2 separate regions of the Homo sapiens genome follow, and region 2 is linked to region 1. Evidence: promoter capture Hi-C in human tissues and cell types (Jung and others, 2019). All regions are on one chromosome and are shown on one strand. Each heading gives the region's core, a stretch centred on a gene start or on the middle of the fragment in contact. The rest is flanking DNA. Distances are from core to core; before and after follow the strand shown. Region 1 holds the start of COG3 (component of oligomeric golgi complex 3). Region 2 overlaps LCP1 (lymphocyte cytosolic protein 1).

The links. The method cuts DNA at HindIII sites, captures the fragments that hold promoters and counts their contacts. A contact is called where the count stands out against the background at its distance.
Region 2: a fragment that was not itself captured here is called in contact with the fragment with the promoter of COG3 in region 1 in 2 of the 25 tissues and cell types used here (dorsolateral prefrontal cortex and hippocampus).

What each region holds. Positions count from the first base shown.
Region 1 is chr13:45,460,426-45,467,757 of GRCh38, forward strand. It overlaps COG3 (component of oligomeric golgi complex 3), which reads left to right and starts at 4,514. Exons shown (of 23, transcript NM_031431.4): 1 at 4,514-4,785. The coding sequence starts at 4,612. The HindIII fragment of the contact is 8,447 bases long and covers 1,593-7,332 here.
Region 2 is chr13:46,137,764-46,145,095 of GRCh38, forward strand. LCP1 (lymphocyte cytosolic protein 1) reads right to left here. Exons shown (of 16, transcript NM_002298.5): 11 at 6,679-6,757; 12 at 5,527-5,641; 13 at 4,529-4,662. Among named protein-coding and RNA genes, the nearest start is that of CPB2, 36 kb to the left of the region's middle. The HindIII fragment of the contact is 5,349 bases long and covers 2,197-7,332 here.

The DNA.
Region 1 (7,332 bases), core at 3,264-5,763:
CAGGCTGGTCTTGAACTCCTGACCTCAAATGATCCACCTGCCTTGGCCTCCCAAAGTGCTGGGATTACAGGCATAAGCACTGTGCCTGGCTCTCAGGTATGTCTTTATCAGCAATATGAAAATGGACTAATACAGAACCCAACACACAATTAATGTTTGATAAGAGGATGAGTGAATGAATGAATGGGTAATCTATAATGTTACTAGATCTCTAATGCTGTACAATAAGCACACACACACATGCACCCACACAACGAACATATAGGCATAATTATGATATATGCGTATCATTATAAATAACACATACTCATTAAAACATTTGAAAAACAAAATACAAGTAAAATTTAAATGTAATTAAAATGACTGTCTAGTAAGCCATCAAGCAAATTTACCATAATTCTATACTTAAATTGTTTCTAAATGTTTTTTAATATCCTGCTGTGAACATCTTTGTAGATAAAGCTTTTTTAAAAAAAATTAAGAGATTATCAATTTATGAAAAAGCCCTAGAAAAGGAAGTAAAAAAAAAGTGAGCATTTCAAGGCTAGTGATAGATATTTCCAAAAATGTTTTTACCAACATTTACACATGACTTTATTGCATGTGTTTTAATTTTATTATTAGCAAAGAGGCAGTTCATAGCTTTTTGAGGTTGAAATTTTGGAAGGTAATTATGTCTTTCTTCAAAACATGCCTTGATTCTAAATATTGATTCTGAATTCTAAGCTGTGGTACTATTTGTCTAATTCTTCTGTTATTATGAAATAAAGCCTTAGCTACTATTTAAATAAATTGTCAAGGTTTACAGTGATTTATAGTCACTGATGTGTAAATGAGAAATTGATAAAGTGAGTAAGAAAGGAAATAATTTGAAAAGGAAAACAGATCTTCAGACCCTTGATGAAGCTATAGAAACCTATAGCAAGGGAAGTGGTTCTTCTGATAATAGGCTGGAGAGTATACATAAAGAAATCCATCAATTCCACAAGAACGTGCTCTGAAAATTCACGAGGCAATTGTACACATGCAGCTGTGTATAAGAATGATTTGAACTATTCCATTTTGTAACTTTGCTGTTTTATAAGCAGTGAAGTAAAATGGAAAATGATCTGAGAAGTCTGTGTGTTCTAACGTTCTTCCTCTTTTACGCCATGTTTAGTGTTTTGGCACTAGTACAACCTTGAAGTACCATAGAATGCTGGGAAGCAGTTCTGCCAGCCTGTAATGCTCATCCTTGGAACTCATGCTTGCTAAAATGTCCTGTGACAAAAAAGTACGAATGGGTTCAAATGTACGAATGGGTTCATGTTGCTCACTTTCATTTGTGTTAGCACAGAGGGAAAAGAGAAGGTCCTGCCCAGTGTCCTGGTTCCAATGACAGGTCTGCCCTTTACTAACTGTTATCCTGAGCAGCTCACAAACCTCCCTGAAGTTTGTTTTTATCATTCATTAAATAGGGCAAAAAATAATATCCACCAACTACCTACCTGAGTGAAAGTGAGCAGCAGATGAGAGGTGCTTTGGAAATCAACACATGAGCTATTCTTGCAATGCCACATTATTAGCGGGGGTCCTTTGCAGTGTCCAGGTTTGAGTCATTGAGGAGGGCTGACCATGGCGAGGCTATGAAGCCCTCACTATAAGGAGGTCTTTGGATCCTTACCGCCGTCTCCTTCCCTATCTCTCCCCTTCCTCAATCTAGAGCACCTCTGCCCCTTGTCCCTTAGGCATTTTTCCATTTCCAGGGGCCTATTCTAAGATATTACTGGGTGAAAAACCCTAGGAAGCAAAGAAATGTGGAATTGCAGACACTTGTAGTAGGTAATAGGAAAGTTTAACCATGGTCTATGTCTTTATTAGGGCAGTAGACAGTAGGATGTGGTGCAGTCTTTCTCAAACTAGAGCTTGTGATTACATTTTTAAAATATTTGTTTTCATTTCAACTCTTTTTTTTTTTTTTGAGACAGAGTCTCGCTCTGTTGCCCAGCCTGGAGTATAGTGGCACAATCTCAGCTCACTGCAAGATCCGCCTCCCGGGTTCATGCCATTCTCCTTCCTCAGCCTCCCGAGTAGCTGGGACTACAGGTGCCTGCCACCACGCCCGGCTAATTTTTGGTATTTTTAGTAGAGACTGGGTTTTACCATGTTAGCCAGGATGGTCTCGATCTCCTGACCCCATGATCCGCCCGCCTCAGCCTTCCAAAGTGCTGGGATTACAGGCGTGAGCAACCACACCCAGCCTCATTTCAACTCTTAAAACTATATTCATGCATATTCTGGATCACCAACATGACAGTTTTATAGTTTAGGATTACCACATGATTTCAGCTTCCACCCTCCTTGTTTGTGCATATAGAATATTTTTAATAAAGCTACTAAAAACAGCAGGGTTGTTTTAATATGCAAATGATATATACAAGCCAGATAAAGGAAAAATGGTATTAGGGATTTACCCTGAGTCAAGTGTTCCCAGTAGTTCAAATGGTGGGGAACACAGCATGCTGCTGGTATAACAGAAGTGTGATGAACTCCCAAGCAGCTGTATAGCAGTAGTCAGGACTGTCTTCGTGTTGCCAGAAGCAATTTCGTTTTCCAGCAAAATAATATCCCACATCTCACTTGAGTTGTTAATGTGAATGTTATTGGTTATATACCGTTATATGTTAGTTATATTTCTGTTGGCATGTAACTTGCATGTCTATTTTGGTATAAACATCCAAAGCTTATGTCAAGTCTTATTTTTGTTCATACTTAAGCAATATAATACAATTATTTACATCAACATTGGGGATCTGCAGATTTTTTAAGGGCTTTGTACAGCAGGCAACTTGGAGAAGCTGTGGTATATAAAGGGTGTCAGACACAGTCAGGATATCTAAGTTCCAGTGGTGACGCTGATGTTAACCACCTGATTGCAGGATGTTAGGCTGCTTGCTTCACCTCTACGGGTTGTAGTTTGCTCCTCTGTAGACAGAAAGGGCTTGATTATATGATTTTAAAATTCTCTTCCAACTTCAAATTCTATTCTTTTTTTTTTTGAGACAGAGTTTAGCTCTTGTTGCCCAGGCTGGAGTGCAATGGTGCAACGTTGGCTCACAGCAACCTCCGCCTCCTGGGTTCAAGCGATTCTCCTGCCTCAGCCTCCCGAGTAGCTGGGATTACAGGCATGCACCTCCACGCGCAGCTAAGTTTTTTTGTATTTTTAGTAGAGACGGGATTTCTCCATGTTGATCAGGCTGGTCTCGAACTCCCGACCTCAGGTAATCCGCCCACCTCGGCTTCCCAGAGTGCTGGGATTACAGGTGTGAGCCACTGCGCCCGGTCTCAAATTCTGCTCTTAAAAGATCAGAGCCTTCATTTGGGAACATAGCCAGGCACTGATTTGTGCTATAAAGCCTGAATAAAGCCTTCAGACTTTACCCAGACAATGGTCAAAATTGCTACGAAGCTGTTTCCACCTGCCTTGACTCCAGGGAGGAGCAGGAAGAGGCCTCCATAACTTGTAGAAGATTGTCTGTTCTCCACCATTTATTTATTCAATCGTTTATTTATAGCAGTATGGACTCATGGGTATTTATTTTATTCTGTAAATTATGATCCAATACTATCATTATTTATTTTGTTGCTCAAATCTACAATATGATTTAAATGGTAGAGTAGAATTACATGTCTGTACCACAAATTATTATTATTATACATTTTGAGACAGTCTCACTTGATGCCCAGGCCGGAATGCAGTGGCAAGATCTCTGCTCACTGCAACGTCCACCTTCCAGGTTCAGGAGATTCTCCTGCCTCAGCCTCTCAGGCTGATTACTGGCATGTGCCACCACGCCTGGCTAATTTTTGTGCTTTTAGTAGAGACGGGGTTCAACCATGTTGGCCAGTCTGGTCTCAAACTCCTGACCTCAGGTGATACGCCCACCTCGGTCTCCCAAAGTGCTGAGATTACAGGCCTGAGCCCCCGCGCCTGGTCTGTGCCACAAATTCTTGATCCAGTTCTTCAATGTTGGACATTTAGGTTGTCTCCAGTTATTTGATACCATTAATGATGTCTGAGATACACACATCTTTGAATTTTTTATGTGTTTCCGTAAATTAGTTTTCTAGTAGGGGAATTACTGGATGTTGGAAAAGTTTATGCTTTTGGTTTTGATCCAAGAGGCATAAATTGTCAACATGCCAACATGGAAATCATACACTCCACACATTCTACCCAGACTACCCAGCTGTAAGCAGAGAGGTGTAGATCCAAGTCTCCTGCCGGCAGGGTGATTTAGCGCAGTTGTCAATAATCTGTACAACACGTAACAATAAAGTTATTGATGTTGAGGAAAAGACTTCCGGTAGGGGCATTTCTATTTCCATTGGGTCCTGTCTTCTCCACCTTCTACGTTTCAACCGGAAATAGTCGTACCCATTTAAAGCCACGTCGGTACTGGCCTCGGTCCCGCCCCCCACACTGCGGAACCGTTTCCGGGGTCAGGGCATTCCGTCCCGCCCCGCCGCCGGTGCAGTGTTGGAAGCTCCGGTTCTCCCGGAAGTGGCCCAGGTCTCTCTGTCGGGGTCCCCTCCATCTCGCTGCTGCTGAAGGCCGCGAGGGCGGCGGCGATGGCGGAGGCGGCGCTGTTGCTGCTGCCTGAGGCGGCGGCGGAGCGGGACGCTAGGGAAAAGCTGGCTCTCTGGGATCGGAGACCGGACACGACGGCGCCGCTGACCGACAGGCAGACGGACTCGGTATTGGAGCTGAAGGCGGCGGCAGAGAACTTGCCGGTGCCAGCTGAGGTGAGGTGATGGGCAGGAACCGGGCCGGGGCGATGGGGCTGGGATTCTCCTCGGGCGCCCCGGCAGGACCCCGGCCTCACTAGCCTCTGCCCAGGATATCTCTCCACTCCTCCCTGGCCATGGTGGCGGATCCGGTGGGAGGGGCCTCATCTCCCAGGCTGTCAGGCTTCGCTCTGCCTGCGACCCCGACTCTAATTCTGCCTGGGGACGGCTGTGGGGGTGTCCTGCAGCTGGTGCTCGCCGGAACCCAGTCCTCCCCCAGCAGCATGGGACGGTTGGCCCGGAGCCTTGCACCGAACGTTTTGCCCCAGACGAGGCGTCCTGTCAGCCGAGGCGTAATCCTGCTGCCCACTCTCTCCCAGAAGGAGAGGCAGTCAACCCGAGGTGCTGTGCTGCAGGACAGTCTCCAGCGCGTGCTCGTTTACCGCCTTAATGATTCACCTAGGTTGCTTTGTCCATGGGGGTCTTGGGGAGACCAAAACTTGGTCCTGAGTGAGTTTCATTTATCGCACATTGAACTATGAGCTCTCAATCAAGTGCAAGTTATGGGAGATCAGATTTATTTCACCTATTGCAAAGCAATAAAAATGAATTTTATTTGAAAGTTGGCTCAGTACATTATTAAGCAGTGCTGGTTTTCGGTGTTAGAGTCAATGTGTTTAATCCACTTACCATTAGGATATTATGCACTACTGCTTCTTGTGTGATTCAATTCAATTAGTTGTAATAGCAGGAAGTAACATGAATTGTCAGATGTTTGACAAACGTTTTCCAGTTTTGAGGGCCAGGTTTAGGAGGATTATTTTATATAAGCAGTGGTGATGGTTACTTTTGATGTTGGAAGCATTCTTTTCTCTCGCTCTGTCGCCCAGGCTGGAGTGCAGTGGCGTGACCTCGGCTCACTGCAACCTCCACCTCCCGGGTTCAAGCGATTCTCCTGTCTCAGCCTCCCGAGTAGCTGGGATCACAGGTGCCTGCCACTACACCCGGCTAATTTTTTGTATTTTTAGTAGAGATGGGGTTTCGCCCTGTTGTCCAGGCTGTTCTCGAACTCCTGACCTCAAGTGATCTGCCCGCCTCGGCCTCCGAAAATGCTGGGATTACAGTCGTGAGCCACCGTGCCTGGCCTGAAGCATTCTTTTTATACGATTTGGAATTGTGTCCAAATGCAGATTGAGTTTAGAGTCTTCAACTTTTTCTGTCCTCCAACTTTAGAGATTTGATTTAAACGTTCTCTTCACATTCACTGTTGTATGCTCAGCCATCAAATAGGCGTTCTTTCTTGGGTTTCTTTTTCCACCTCTAGGATATGGTACCGGAAGTGGATCTGAAATCAATGAAGGCGCAGGTGGAAATTTCTTTGGCTCAGCTATCAAACTCTTTTATACCCTGGATAATAAAAGTTGTTTGCTCTATAAATTTTCCAGTCTGTTTATAATTGATTTGGCTCCTACTGCAGCAGGATGCTTGGACTTAATAGCACTGAGGGTGTGATGGGGGAGATACATATTCTACAAAAAAATTTGTTTTCATTGTCATGGGTCATAAACTATTATTTCTTATTCTCATTGAGCATGAAGGAGAACGTTTGGAATGAACTAAATGGAATCTTTCATTTTCACCCCATTCTTCCATATTTATCATTAGCCACATGCAGTCTTTAACATATGTTATGTCCCTACTCTGAGTTAGGTATTGAAGATAGAAAGATAAATAGGAAAGATGAGATCCTTAGCCTCATAGAGCTGACATAATTGTGGGGATCATGAACATGGAAAAAAAGAACAAAGAAGGTATGTTCAGATGGTGGTCCATAATATAAGGAAAATCAGATAGGATGGTGTGACAGAAAAGGATGAGGTGTGCCCTTTTAGAGAAAGAGGGAAGACCTTTCCAAGGAAGTGACAGCCTGAGGTGAGAACTGATGATGGACTACCTGAAGCTAGCCTCATAAAGACTAAAGAAATAACATTGCAGCTGGAAGAAAGAACAGCATAAGGTCATGGGTAGAGGATGAGCTTAATGAGTTCAAGAATTCAGTGAGGGTCTTCTGGTACGTGCAGCTTGGTATTGGATTCCTGTGAGAATGCAATAGCTGAGGCCAGGTGCGGTGGCCCACGCCTGTAATTTCAGCACTTTGGGAGGCTAAGGCGGGAGAATCACTTGAGGTCAGGAGTTCAAGACCAGCCTGGCCAACATGGCGAAACACCATCTCTACTAAAAATATAAAAATTAGCTGGGTGTGGTGGTGCATGCCTGTAATCCCAGGTACTTGGGAGGCTGAGGCATGAGAATCACTTGAACCCAGAAGGCAGAGATTGCCCTGAGCCGAGATTGCACCACTGCGCTCCAGCCTGGGTGGGTGACAGGCAAGATTCTGTCTCAAAAAGAATGCAGTAGCCGAGCTGGTTATGCACACATCCTGGAATCTTTGAGAAGGCAGTTCTCATTGCTCTTCAGCTTTACAGCCCTCATTTTCCTTTTCTGAAGTGTTTATATGTCTGTTGGGAAGACTTTGGAATTAATTTTTTTAGCCCTATACTACTC
Region 2 (7,332 bases), core at 3,621-6,120, 680 kb after region 1:
TGCTGTGCTGAAAAGCTCTTTGTCAAAATGAAACAGAATTATGAGCTCCAGCTTTAGCCAGTTCCTCCTTCAACAAGAGAGTTGATGAGGTTTGGATGTGAGGCACTAGAGGGATGTGATTAGTACCTGCTTACTTTCCTGCCTTCCAACACTTGTTTTACTTATTTATTATTTGGCATAGAGGAACAAACCAGGCATTTTGTTTTTCAAGGACCCATCCTGACTTCACCATCCACAGCCTGTTTGACCTGGGGAGAGTTTCCTAATTGTCTGCTTCGGATTCTTTGTTCATTTGCTTCAGAGCCATCATTGCCATGTGCTGGCAGCCTGCTTGCTTCAAGGGTTTTATCTGCAAGTTTATGCATATGCTGTTTGCCAACTGTCCACCCTGAGAATGATTTCCAAGCTACTGAAGGGGATAGGGAAGTTTAAGTACATATCTCTCATTTGCTCTCATAGGAAAAAATGACAAGCCATTTATTGTCCAGATAAATGACCAAATTAGCACATCAGCACAATTCAATGAAATAAATTCCAGCTAGAACCAGCTGTAAATTTAATAGATCTTTTAATATATAGCATGCAGGGAAAAAAATCCCTTCCGGTGCCATTTATATAATTATCAGTCATTACTTCTCCTTCTACAGTAATATATTTTTCTGTCTACTTTCTTAAATGCACGATTCTTATGTAGTAAACACTCATGAGAAATATGACTTTTTAACCAGGTGGAGACAGCAACAGCAGAGTGGACCTTGTTGTGTATGTGCCAGCCATTAAATAGGGCTTTGAGCCACATTTTTATAAAACATCCAAAGATCATATTGCAAGACGTTTTTCAGATATTATGAAATTTAACATAGAATGGGGTTGACCTGAGTTTGTTTGTTTGTTTTTTTCTGAGACAGAGTCTCGCTCCGTCACCCAGGCTGGAGTGCAGTGGCATGATCTTGGCTCACTGCAACCTCTGCCTCCCAGGTTCAAGAGATTCTTCTGCCTCAGCCTCCTGAGTACCTGGGACTACAGGCACGCACCAGCATACCTGGCTAATTTTTGTATTTTTAGTAGAGATGGGGTTTCACCATGCTGGCCAGGCTGGTCTCAAACTCCCGACCTCAGGTGATCCACCCGCCTCGGCCTCCCAAAGTACTGGGATTACAGTATGAGCCACCGCACCCGCTGGCTTGAGCTTTTTAATCATTAAAATAGCATATATTAAAGATTATTTAATATTGAAACCCATGAGTCAGTTTAACTGTTGCAACTAAAAGGACTTTTGCTTTGGTTTTTAAAGCAATCAGTATGAATTGCTAATCTGTTAAAAATTTAAAACTTGTGGAAGATAATAAAGATAGCTTGGAAATATCATCTGGAAATACACTGGTGAGAACAGCCCTGAGGAGTTTTCAATGATGTTCTGGATACATGCAGTAAACTAAAAGACAGAGTTGGAGTTTCTTTAGTTCTGGAGTTTTCTGCACCAGGGGAGCCTTATGACATCTGCCCCCATCATTAAAGAGACCCCAGTGTGGAAATGGGTAATGGAGCTCTATACTTAGTAAAGCAAATGTGAATCAGGGAGTGAAATCTTTTATGATCACTTCTGATTATCCTACCTTATCTGGAAATACTGACACGATTACATCCAGAGCCGGCCATTATTAGGATCTGCAGACAGTGGCTTGGAACTAAAGCTGCAGTGCCTAGGCACACCACGAACCTTGTCTTTGCCATTATCTTTCCAGACAGAATGTAATGTGACATGCAGTTTCTGGGGCTTCCTTCCAGGTAGGAAAATGAATTGAGTCACACTAACATAGGATCTAATGAGGGGATGTAAGATTCTTGCCTTGTCAGAGCTATTAGTATAGGGGGAAAGACTGAAGCATTTACAAGTAAATTATTTTATTACTTACAGAATTCCTATCTAAAAGTCTTCCCAAGCTTATGATTTTGTACCAAAATTGTTTCTTTTTCTTATAATTTATTTTCTATTTGTGTATCTTTTTATAACCTATTTTTGTTTAACTAATATCACCCTATACTTCTCACATTAGTCAAGTTTATATTCAGTTCCAAAACATATCTAAAGTTTTGTATGAAAGGAACTTCTGTTTCTGGCCATGATGGAATAACAGGGCCCACATTTAAACACTTATAATACAGTGAAAAACATATGAAACAATGTTGTTCAGACATCAGACAATAGGAAGCACAGGACAGTGGCCCCTGAAAAGAAGAAAACAAAGTTAGCCTTAAGATTTTTCCAGCATGGAAAAAGTTTCCAAGCTGCAGCATAGGAGGAGAAAACCCAAACAGCTGGCCATCCTCTTGAGTGGAGGAAACAGGGATGAGAAATGAAGGAAGCCCAGGTGCCTAGAATTTAGGGGAAAGACTATCAGAGTGGTGAGAACTGTATAGAGAGAAGAGAGTCATTCAGAAAGAAAGCTTCAGCGGCCTTCAGAGGGTTTCCCTCAGTCTTCAGCTGAGGACCACTCAGTGCACATGTGTGAGGAAACTACTAGAGGCTGTGGGGAAAAACCCACCAGAAATGAGCCACGAGAGCAATCCTTGGGGCTCACACAAGGCTGGAAAAATTTGTTCCCACCAGCTGGAGTGGAAAAATTTCATAATACATGAGCATCAAGCAAAGTACTCAGAAGACCATTTTCTCATTACTAACAAGCAAAATGAGCTCTAGATTAATTAAGCTTAAAAGTAAGCCTCAAATGGATCAAACTGTATTTAAGTTACTTAAGTCTATCCCAGGATTAAATTTAAGAATATTTAAAGGAATACAGAAATATCCAGTACACAGCAAGGTCAAATTCATGATATTTGACATATAATTAAAAAATTAGCAGCATGCAAAGAAGCCAAAAAATATGACTCATAATGAAGATAAAAATAAATTAGTAGAAACAGATCCCAAAATAAGTTACTGTAATTATTTTCTGTATGTTCAAGAAGGTAAAGGAAAGGACAGCTATGGGAAATATAAAAATGACTCAAAATTTCTATACATGGAAACTATAATGTCCAGGTTAAAAAACATGTACACTGGATGGAGTTAATGGAATATTAGACATGCAAAATAAAAGAGATTAGTGAACTTGAAAACACAGCAATACAAGTTATACAAAATGAAACATAGAGAAAATAAATCACTAAAGCATCGGTGAGCTTAGGGACAACTTTGAACGATCAAATATACATGGACTTGGAATCCCCCAGAACCAGGGCTGGTGGGTATGGAAGATATGTTTGAAGAGATGAAAGTTAAGTTTTCCAAATTTGATGGAAAGTATAAACCCATAGATTCTATAAGTTCAACAAACCTCAAGCATAAGAAACAACAATGGAGCTGGGCATGGTGGCTCATGCCTGTAATCCCAGCAGTTTGGGAGGCTGAGGCACTCGGATCATTAGGTCAGGAGTTTGAGACCAGCCTGTCCAACACGGTGAAACCCCGTCTCTACTAAAAATACAAAAATTAGCTGGGCATGGTGGCGTGGACCTGTAGTCCCAGCTACTCAGGAGGCTGAGGCAGGAGAATCACTTGGACCCAGGAGGTGGAGATTGCAGTGAGCCAAGATCACACTACTGCACTCCAGTCTGGGCGACAGAGCAAGACTCTGTCTCAAAAAAAAAAAAAAAAAAAAAGAAACAACAATGTACATCATAATAAAATTACCTAAAACCTGTAATAAAGAGAAATCTTAAAATAAGCCAGAAAAGAAATACTACATATGAGGGAACAACAATAAGAATGACAATAGATTTCCCCTTGGAAACAATGTGGGCCAGAAGACAGTGAAACTATCTTTAAAGTACGGAAAGAAAAAACTATCAACTTAGAATTCTGCACTCAGAGAAAAAAATATTTTGAAAATGAAATAGACATTTTCAGACATATAGAAGCTGAAATCACTCATCACCAGCAAACTTGTGCTATTAGAAATATTTTAGGTAGACAGAAAATGATACCAAATGGAAATCTTGATCTATAAAATAGTAGGAAGAGCACTAGAAATAGTAAATGTGTAGATAAATATAGCATAATTTCCCCTTTATTTAAAAAGTCCCTTTAAAAGTAATTGTTATTTACACAGATCAATTGAAGTAAAAGGATGGTAAAAAGATAGGCCATGCTAACCACTAATCAATAGGAAGCCTATAGAAGCAATAGTAGCTATTATCTATTAATGTCAGAAAAAATAGATTTCAGAGAAAAGAATATTAGTAGGCATAAAAAAGACTACTTTATAAGGACAAAGGGATGAGTAAATTAGAATGAAACAACAATCTAAACTGTTTATGAACCTAATAACAGAGTTTCACGATACTTGAAACAAAAACTGATAGGACTGAAAAAAAAAAAGCAGAAAGGTAAAAAGTGTTTCTCTGGTTATGAAGCTTAGCTTAAAACATACTTTTACTGAATTAACTCATACTGCTAAAAATTTGCTAATATTTGTCTAAGTAAATAATGTATTCAAGAAAAAGCCACTTCCATAAGCTATACTACCTTCTCATTAGCTGCCAAATCAAGGCCAGTGTGAGAGTGCGGTTTCCTTCATTGAGATCTTGTCCACCGATGCCAACCAGGGAGAACTTCGCTTGATTCTTCCCCAATTCTACCGCGTAGTTACAATTCTCAAGCTGAATGAGCAGAAAGGAAAACGATTTAACGTCATCATCTTGATTATGATAAATACCAGATAAATAATAAAAATAAAGATAAAAAATGAAATAAATATGGTAAGACCGAATGACCTCTCAAGTCTCAACTGGTTCTGCAATTCTAGGATTCAAAATTAAAGAATTTTCCATCTGTCCTTAGAACCCCTCACTTTCATAAAAAATATTCATAATGTGGAAAACTGAAATGAATTCATTACTATGAATATGTTCACAGCTATATCACACTGCAGAAATGGAGAGCCATCCTTAATTACCTACATGTAATATTTCTAAAAAAGGTGAATTCATGGAGATTGACATGGAAAATTTGGAGTCTCCATCCTCTGCACACATAGCAAATGGACATGTGAACAGATATTCCTGTAGCTACGCATGGATCATTAACAGTCACGGCAATAAGAAATGCTGAGAAATGGCTGTGTCAACCCTGTTGTTTCAAAACAATGTTCCCACTGTGTTGACAGTCGACAAACTGTTTGAACAAGTCAAGCTGTCAGTACAAGCTCCAATTCTTTAGAAATTAGAATAAAGATCCTGCTGAGGGAAAAATCCCTGTGGCTCTCTGCTTGCTCTAATTATCTTAATTAGAATTTTTGCATGATAATGTTTGAAGACATCCAACATGGAATTATAAATAAGCAATTGACTGAAATAATGGACACACTTTAATAAAGCTGTTCAGGTTTCTGATTGCTGTACTAGAATTTAATTTCTGGAAAAACATTACTTGTCTACGTTTGGCTGCCTTATAAAGTATTTAGAGTGCTCTTGCAGGCTATGACTTTGCCTGTCTCCTGGAACAACAGAACCATCATTGTTTACCTTCTTCATATTGCCTCCCAGTTTGGGGTATGGCGGTTTGTTTACTCTGTTCCAGTCAACAGGAACTTTGATCTTTTCATAGAGCTGGAAGATGACCAGGGCATCTGATAAGTCACTGAACAAAACAAACACAAAAGGATTCTCAGATATCCAACATTTATTCAGGGCCTACAATGGGCCAGACACTTTCTTACATATTAGTTCAAAGAATATTCACAACAACCCTGCACACTTGGTAGTCGTAGCTCCATCTATAGAGGTGAAGAAACCATGACTCAGAGAGATTGGGGGACTCACTCTTCCCAGGTGTGACTAGCTATGCCCTTCCATCCAACATATGCTGCCTCAGGAAAAGAAAGAGCACTATGGTGACGAAATAATCTGTACACCAAACCCCTGCAACATGCAATTAACCTATATAACAAACCTGCACATGTCCCCTGTACCTAAAGGTTTACAATTTGTAAAACTAAATAAATGTAAAAGAAATATTTAGAACGGGCGCAGTGGCTCACGCCTGTAATCCCAGCACTTTGGGAGACCAAGGCGGGTGGATCATGAGGTCAAGAGATCAAGACCATCCTGGCCAACAAGGTGGAACCCCGTCTCTACTAAAAATACAAAAAATTAGCCAGGCATGGTGGCAGGTGCCTGAAGTCCAAACTACTTGGGAGGCTGAGGCAGGAGAATGGCGTGAACCCGGGAGGCAGAGCTTGCAGTGAGCCGAGATTGCGCCACCGCACTCCAGCCTGGGCGACAGAGCGAGACTCCATCTCAAAAAAAAAGAAATATTGAAAAAAAAAAGAAGAAAATTGCTTTAACAAGTGGCATAGGAGACACTTCACCACAAACTTAACATCTGTTGTTTTGCCTGCTTGTGAGCGGGTTATATGTAAGATCACTTATGACATATAGTAAATGTTTCATTTTGTTGAGGTATGATTTATATATTGAGCACACAGTGAGACTGATGTATGCAGGTGAGTTTTTCAACTGAATATCCAACATCTGAAGCTCAACTTGGCACTTTTTCCCCTTCCAGCAAGGTATGCACATTTTGTGAAGAGAATGCACATCATAGTGGTATTTGGAATCCTATGGCTCTTTTGAGGTCTCTATCTTACATTAGAATGAGTTCCCAAATATTCCTACCTGTACAAATGATTGACTCGAGGGTTAACACCCAGGGAGTTCATCCAGTTCCTAAATGTCCGCTCTTCTCTCGTCTCACCTAGATGAATGAAGATGGGTTATCTTTTGGGACCGAAGAAAACATAGCTTTTTTATGACCAAAGTTTAACTAAAGAGGATGCAATAAAAACTGAAAGTAGAATGAAAGAAAGAAATAAAATAAACTGTATTGGATTTGGACGAGGGTTCTTATACTGTGTTAATTTTTCTTTTCCATTTCAATTCCGCATGTATTTCTATAGTATCTATTAATAGTGTGTGGAATCCTGTGTGGGGTAGCTGTTCAGTTGGCTCTCAAAGGCTTACCTTCTTGCTGGAAAAAACAGGACTTTTAGGCATCAAACAGAGATCATACAAGCTACAGAACTCACTTATGAGGTAGATATATTTGTTATTTGAATTGAGACAGGGAAAAGAACAGTATGGACTGAACTTGGAAGGGGTGGAATTTGAACTTGTCCTTGGATAGCTAGCAAAATCTGGATCAGAAAAAGGAAAGAGTAGAGGATTTGGGGAGATAGCAAGGGGTGGGAGTAGAAGGTAGTATAAATATGCATACAAAGGGAGCAACAGGCAAGGTCTCTATTAAGAACATCAGGAACTGGTTTGGTCAGG